Linked DNA regions of Homo sapiens: region 1 is linked to region 2. Evidence: promoter capture Hi-C in human tissues and cell types (Jung and others, 2019). All regions are on one chromosome and are shown on one strand. Each heading gives the region's core, a stretch centred on a gene start or on the middle of the fragment in contact. The rest is flanking DNA. Distances are from core to core; before and after follow the strand shown.

Evidence for each region. The method cuts DNA at HindIII sites, captures the fragments that hold promoters and counts their contacts. A contact is called where the count stands out against the background at its distance.
Region 1: a contact is called between the fragment with the promoter of NDUFV1 here and the fragment with the promoter of RPS6KB2 in region 2, in 1 of the 25 tissues and cell types used here (liver).

The regions. Positions count from the first base shown.
Region 1 is chr11:67,604,555-67,608,185 of GRCh38, forward strand. NDUFV1 (NADH:ubiquinone oxidoreductase core subunit V1) reads left to right here and starts at 2,382. Exons shown (of 10, transcript NM_007103.4): 1 at 2,382-2,522. The coding sequence starts at 2,451. It overlaps NDUFV1-DT (NDUFV1 divergent transcript), which reads right to left and starts at 2,152. Exons shown (of 3, transcript NR_130935.1): 1 at 2,065-2,152; 2 at 1,339-1,457; 3 at 1-549. RefSeq lists enhancers at 306-991, 1,891-1,950, 2,331-2,460. The HindIII fragment of the contact is 16,538 bases long and covers 1-3,631 here.
Region 2 is chr11:67,425,991-67,429,743 of GRCh38, forward strand. RPS6KB2 (ribosomal protein S6 kinase B2) reads left to right here and starts at 2,504. Exons shown (of 15, transcript NM_003952.3): 1 at 2,504-2,633; 2 at 2,992-3,032; 3 at 3,130-3,250; 4 at 3,537-3,605. The coding sequence starts at 2,556. RefSeq lists enhancers at 2,048-2,197, 2,214-2,981, 2,298-2,547, 2,982-3,749. The HindIII fragment of the contact is 10,585 bases long and covers 1-3,753 here.

The DNA.
Region 1 (3,631 bases), core at 1,132-3,631, 180 kb after region 2:
GGCAGTGGGGAACCACAAAAACTCTCAGGCAGGAAAGGGGCAAAACGGGTCTGAGATTTATAATAATCCCACTGTTCCATGTTTGCAGAGAAGGGGCTGGAGGAGCCAAGATGTGAGGGTGGGAGGCCCCAAGGATACATTGTTAATTTCAGGTGAGAGATGACAGGGCCACAGCCATCTATCACTGTGCAGGGAATGTTTGGAAGGTAAAGTTGACCAGATAGACACAGTGGATGTGGGGCCAGTGGGACAGGGAGGAGCCCTTGATACCTCTTGGCTTGTGGCCTGGAGGCTGGCTGGGGAGGCTGATATACAGAGTGACACAGGATGGGATGGGTGCTGAGGAGGTGAGAGCCAGGACCTGAGATGCTGCAGAGAAGGCTCCTGGGAGATGACATCAGAGTGGATCTCCTTCTTCGCTTGAGAAGCCTGGCAAGTAGGTGCTCCAGTGGGTGGGGACCAGTGGGGGATTTGTTGTTAGGAGACCTCAGGCCGAGTTCTGGCAGTTGTGTCATCCTGGGCAGGCCACTCAGCAATGCTGATACCCTGCTTCTGAAAACAGGGCTCATCATTCCTGAGGCTGGAGTTTTGGAGGATTAAGGAGGTAACACATGGCAAGTGCTTGGCCCAGAGCCTGGCACTGAATGAACAGAGGATCCTTCCCTCACTCTCCGTTTTCCATCCCCCCTCATGCCCAGCATCTCCTGTCCCCAGCATCCCCAACCTGCATCTCCCTCAGCCTGTATTCCTTTGACCCAGTTAGAGACAGATGAGGAAGGAATCCACCCGCTGGGCTGGCTCTGACCTGCCCCCCTTCTTCTGCCCCAAAGGGAGGGATCCGAGGACTCAGGTCTGAGCCCGGATTAGCTGTGTAATCCCCAGCTTTGCCTAGGCAACCTCTTTCCCTGACCAAGAGAGGGGGCCTGCGGCTGGCAGCCAGGACTCCTGGGCTCTGGGCCTGATACTACTCTATCTGTCTGGGAAACCTCAGACAGGGAAGAGATTTCTTGGTGCCTCTCTTGGGAATGTCACTGACGTCCACAGTGACTGTCACATGCGTGTCAGTTGTTCTGTGGGTTTGCTGTGTGCGGGGCACTGTGGAAAGGAAGAAAGGCCTAGATTCCAGTCCAGCTCCACCACTCAGCAGCTTCATGCCCACAGACAAAGGACAAAATCCCCCTGAGCCTCAGTTTTTTCGTGGACAAAATGGAGTGAACACCTTGTGGGGCTGCTGTGGGGTATGTGAGAAAATAGCTGCAAAGGAGTTTTGTAAACAGCACGTTTTAGAGAGATCAGGAAGGATGATTACAGCACAAAAGAACAGAGATGGTTCCTCACCATGAGGACTGGAAAAGAGCTGGGGAGAGCAGGCCAAAAAGGTCACTCTTATCACGAGGACCACAGCAGAGGGTTCCAGGAAACTGAAAAAGACGAGTTCATCAGGCTTCCAAGACCTCCTGGGAAGGCAAAGGACAGAGGGACCTCCTCAGGTCAGGGGAAAACCGAGGGAGGGGGACAGCCACACAAACGCCCTAAAGTCTAATGACGGCAGAAAGGGGTCTTGGGGGACGGGGGTGGGGTTCACAGCAGTGGCCTGGGCGTGATGACCCTGGCGAAGGACGGGGTCGCAGAGCCCTTAAATCCTGGACCAGTGGCTGATTCCAAAAGCAGCAGGGACCATGCCAGGATTTTGGGCAGAAGCAGAAAGTGCTGGACTCTCCTGACAAGAGCTGAGAGAACTCAGCGGCGCCAGCAAGAGTTTGTGCCGTGCACTGACCATCTGCATCCTCTCTGCCTCACCCCAGCCTAGGATTCCGTGACAGGCCCTCTGGGAAGAACTCCGCGAACAACCCCCTGCCTTGGAGTCTGCAATCCTTCCTCGAGCACACGGACGCCCGGGGTGGGGAAGCCCACAGTCTGGCAGGGCTCGCACTGGGCAGAATAATTGCAACGTAGTCATGAGGATCGGGCTATGACCTGCCTGACTTTTCACTCCTCCCATGATACACCGATGCATACCGCAGGTGCACACTAAACGCCGAATCTATAGAAAGTGGAACACACCAGGACCCAGCAGAAGGCGACATGCGAGGTTTGTTTACTTGTGGCATCAAAGGCTGGGAGCCGGCGAGCTAAGGAGGGAGCGAAAGAGCGAGCGGTGGGGACAGCCACCGCTAAATGCCAGCCCGGTGGAGGGAGGAAGGCGGACCCCAGGCCGGTGGGACCACATCTCCCAGAAGCCCCGGCGCCAAGGCACTGGCCTCTCAGTCCTCCCCCGAGGAGGCGGGGCCGCTGGCGAAGTTGAAGGGGCGCAGCGATACCGGTGCGCGGCGCTGGCGTCGGGCGCGTGACGTCTTTCCTGCGCGCCACCTAGCGTCTCTATCGCGCCAGTTCCTCAGCCTCAGTGCTATGAAGGTGACAGCGTGAGGTGACCCATCTGGCCCGCCGCGATGCTGGCAACACGGCGGCTGCTCGGCTGGTCGCTTCCCGCGCGGGTATCTGTGCGTTTCAGCGGCGACACGGTGAGGCCCAGCCTGGCTGGGGCCACGGGTGTTTGGGGCCGGGTGTCGCGGCCGCGCCCGTGCACGAGCAGTCCCTGGGGTCTGTAGTGGCCTCTGGAGAGCCCTTCTCCCCAGGCCAGGCGGGAAGGCCCCCGCTCCGGCCTGGTTGAAGTAGGGGAACGGGTCCCAACGCGGGGCCGACTCCCTTGACCCTCTGACTTGCTGGCTTCCCTTGTTTTACAGTCCTCGGCCTGGCGGAAGTTTTGCAGGTTGTGAAGACCCCTAGTCTTTCATTCTCTCCTTGTCACAGCCTTGTAGGGCGTGAAGGGGTCATTGCCCCATTTAGGGATGCGCACCTCCTGATTTCCCGTCCACTGCTCTGCGCCCTGAAGTGGCTGAAAAGTGCTCTTAAAAGGATGGGAATCCCGTCGCCCTCAGCTGGTGCGCTCTCCACTGGGTCGTGGGGCTCCTCATTTCATCCTAAGTGAGCCCCTCCATCACCTGTGTGTTAAGGAGGCATTTCTTTCCCATCAGTAAACACATTTCGCCTCTTCGGCCGAGGTAGGAATATAAAAGGCCCCTGGCCTACCCAAGTTTTGGTCCAGCAGGGGAGCCAGGCCGGGAAAGGGCCAAGCTGCCACACTCGGCTTGTGGGGCTGTGTGGTGCCGTGATGCAGCTGTGGGTTTGGCCACCGACAGACCTGGGCTCAAATTGGACCTGCTGCTTTTGACTGTGAGACCTTCCATAAGCTCCTTTTGCTCCAAGCCTCAGTTTTCTCCTCTGTGAAACAGAGAAAATCGTTCCTATCAGAGTTCTTATGAGGATGAAATGGGATTTTGGATGTAAAATGCTTCCATCCAGTACCTGCTAAACAAAATGCTTACTAATGGCCGGGCGCGGTGGCTCACGCCTGTAATCCCAGCACTTTGGGAGGCTGAGGCGGGCGGATCGCTTGAGGTCAGGAGTTCGAGACCAGCCTGGCCAATATGGTGAAACCCTGTCTCTACTAAAAGTGCAAAAATTACCCGGGCGTGGTGGTGAGTGCCTGTAATCCCAGCTATCCAGAGGCTGAGGCACAAGAATTATTTGAACCTGGGAGGTGGAGTTTGCAGTGAGCTGAGATTACGCC
Region 2 (3,753 bases), core at 1,254-3,753:
CACACCCACACATCCCCATCCAATAAGAATCCATACCCAATCTTTTTTTTTTTTTTTGAGACAGTTTCACTCTTGCTGCCCAGGCTGGAGTGCAATGGCACAGTCACGGCTCACTGAAACCTCTGCCTCCCGGGTTTAAGTGATTCTTCTGCCTCAGCCTCTCAAGTAGCTGGGATTACAGGCACCCACCACCACACCCAGCTAATTTTTGTATTTTTAGTAGAGACGGGGTTTCACCATGTTGGCCAGACTGGTGTCGAACTCCTGACCTCAAGCGATCCACCCGGCTCGACCTCCCAAAGTGCTAGGGTTGCAGGTGTGAGCCACCGCGCCCCGCCAAATCCATACCCAATCTAAAGTCACAGACCACATGTCACAGACAAGATTTGCTGTGTTGAGTGTGTTCATTCCTTCTTTCTTTTTTTTTCTTTTTTTGGAGACGGAGTCTCACTCTGTTGCCCAGGCTGTAGTGCAATGGCGTGATCTTGATTCACTGCAACCTCTGCCTCCCAGGTTCAAGCGATTTTCCTACCTCAGCCTCCCAAGTAGCTGGGACTATAGGCATGCACCACCACTCCCGGCTAATTTTTGTATTTTTAGTAGAGACAGGTTTTCACTATGTTGGTTAAGCTGGTCTTGAACTCCTGACCTCAAGTGATCCACCCGCCTTGGCCTCCCAAATTGCTGGGATCGCAGGCATGAGCGACCCTGCCTGGCCTAAGTTCATTCTGTCAACAGCGTTTTTGGTTTTTGCTGGGTGTAGTGGCTCATGCCTGTAATCACAGCACTTTGGAAGGCCAAGGCAGGAGGATCACTTGAGTCCAGAAGTTCAAGACCAGCCTCCTGGGCAACAAAACAAGACCTCCCCTCTAAAAAAAAAAAAAAAGAAAGAAAGAAAGAAAAGAAAAAAGATTATGTGATTATGTCATTCCAGTTACTTGGGATTTGAGGTGGGAGAATCACTGGAACCCAAGAAGTCAAGGCTGCAATGAGCCACGATCTTGCCACTGTACTCCAGCCTGGGTGACAGAGTAAGATCCTGTCTGAAAAACTAAACAAAACAAAGAAAAAAAAACCATAAAGTTTTTTTTTTTTTTTTTTTTTTTTTTTTTTTTTTTTTTAAGATGGAGTCTCGCTCTTGTTGCCCAGGCTGGAGTACAATGGCATGATCTTGGCTCACCGCAACCTCCGCTTCCCAGGTTCAAGTGATTCGCCTGCCTCAGCCTTCCCGAGTAGCTGGGATTACAAGCATGCACCACCATGCCCAGCTAATTTTGTGTTTTTAGTAGAGACGGGGTTTCTCCATGTTGGTCAGGCTGGTCCTGAACTCCCGACCTCAGGTGATCCGCCTGGCTCGGCCTCCCAAAGTGCTGGGATTACAGGTGTGAGCCACCGTGACCAGCCAGGTTTTCGGGTTTTATCTGTTTGAGACTTGGTCTCACTCTGCCGCCCAGCCTGGAGCGCAGTGGTGCAATCTTGGCTCACTGCAACCTCTATCGCCCGAGTTCAAGCGATTCTCCTGCCTCAACCTCCCGAGTATCTGGGAGTACAGGTGCGCGCCACCACACCCGTCTAATTTTTTGTATTTATAGTAGAGGCAGAGTTTCATCATGTTGGCCAGGCTGGTCTCCAACTTCTGACCTCAAGTGATCCACCCACCTCGGCCTCCGAAAGTGTTGAGATTACAGGTGTGAGCCACCGCCTCCGGCCTGTTTGTTTTTTTGAGACAGGATCTCACTGTGTCACCCAGCCTGGAGTGCAGTGGCACCATCATAGCTCACTGTAACCTTGAACTCCTGGCCTCAAGTGATCCTCCCAACTTGGCTTCCCAAAGTGCTACGATTACAGGCGTGAGGCATCGTGTCCGGCCTCAACAACGTTTTTTGAAGTGTCTATTCTGTACCAGGTGCCTAAATGTGCTTAAATTAAGAAGGGAGTAAACGCCAACAAAATCCCATATTTACAGGTCTATCACTGACCCCCAAAACCCTATTTAAGGCGGGAACCTGGCAACATAGCCTGGCAGTGAGCTGGCCACTCAGTAAATGCTCCGATTTGCAGGGTCCTCGAGCCAGAGGCACTTTGAGGAGACCCTGATGCAGCCGCCTCCCTTTCTGGAGTGAACCGAAAGCAACGCGACCTGCCTTTCATCACGCAGCCGGCCTGGCAGTACCCGTCTCCAACAGGGCTGGGGATTGCATTTACATTCACACCTGCATACACTTCCGACCCTGCTCCATCCAAACTCAAAACACCGTAGAACCAAAACGGGCTCCCAGAAAGCCTTGCTGGGAAGACCGAGGGTCCTGCGGAAAGGATTCTGCAGGCTGAAGGCTAGGCGCCTCGCCACTCTAGGACTACAATTCCCGAGAGGCCTTGCGACGGAAGCCATCTTTGTTCCCCACCAGGCTAAGCGATTTTCCGGAGGGGGAGTAAGATCCCTTGCGTCACCGGCGCGCGCAGCTGCCGTCGCGGAGAGATGATGTTTAGGTCCGGGACTGTCAGTCAGTGCGCGGCCAGGTACGGGCCGACGGGCCCGCGGGGCCGGCGCCGCCATGGCGGCCGTGTTTGATTTGGATTTGGAGACGGAGGAAGGCAGCGAGGGCGAGGGCGAGCCAGAGCTCAGCCCCGCGGTGAGTGCCCTGCCCTGGCGCGACTGGATCCTGGAGCCGATCCTGTCACCCAGCCGAGGCCGGAGCGGCGGCTCCGCACGCCCAGAGCGGGCTCCGACTCTTTGCAGACCCAGATCCTTCTCAGATCCCGGTCTCTATTAAGTTCTGATCCCACCCTCACCCCGACCTCTCTTCCAGAACCCCAGCCTTTTCTCCCGATTCTCCCTTTCCTGCCTTCGGTTTCTTCCCAATTCTTACCCATCCCCTACTAGCTGCCATCCCTGACACCCTTCTCTCCTGGGCCACGCAGTCCAACCTGAACGGGAGCGGGGAGGTATCCTGGCACCTTCCTTGGCTCTTACCCCTCGGTTTCTCACAGGACGCATGTCCCCTTGCCGAGTTGAGGGCAGCTGGCCTAGAGTGAGTGAGGGTCGTGTTGGGGGAGGGGGGAATGGAGTGGGGAAGGGGAACTGGGGAGCACTGGAGCCTTGTCCTCATTAACTCCTTGTGTCCGTAGGCCTGTGGGACACTATGAAGAGGTGGAGCTGACTGAGACCAGCGTGAACGTTGGCCCAGAGCGCATCGGGCCCCACTGCTTTGAGCTGCTGCGTGTGCTGGGCAAGGGGGGCTATGGCAAGGTAGGGGCGGGCGCACCCTCCTCCTGGCCTCACAGCCTCCATCTGGAGGCAGCAAAGGGTTCTCAAAACAAATTAGACTTGTGAATCAGCAGGGCCTCTAATGGGATTCAGAGCCAGAAACATAAAGGAGGGAAGGCCAAATCCTCTCCAATCGGACTTGAAATCTTCACTGCCCCACCCTTGGCAGGGCCTAGGCCTCCTGATCCCAAAGCCAGAGCTTCAGGGTGGGGCTTCTTGAAGATAGGATGTGGAGAGGGAAGTTGATCCTGTCTCCCCTGCCCTACAGGTGTTCCAGGTGCGAAAGGTGCAAGGCACCAACTTGGGCAAAATATATGCCATGAAAGTCCTAAGGAAGGTGAGTCACTCGTTCAGCCAACGAATACTGTGTGGCTGCCATTCCCAACATGCTGTACCAGGCTTTGGGAAGACAGCAGGGAACACAGTGGAGGAGGATCCCTGACTTTGGCGTTTGCTGGTTTATTGTCTGTTGTGATGTGTATTGT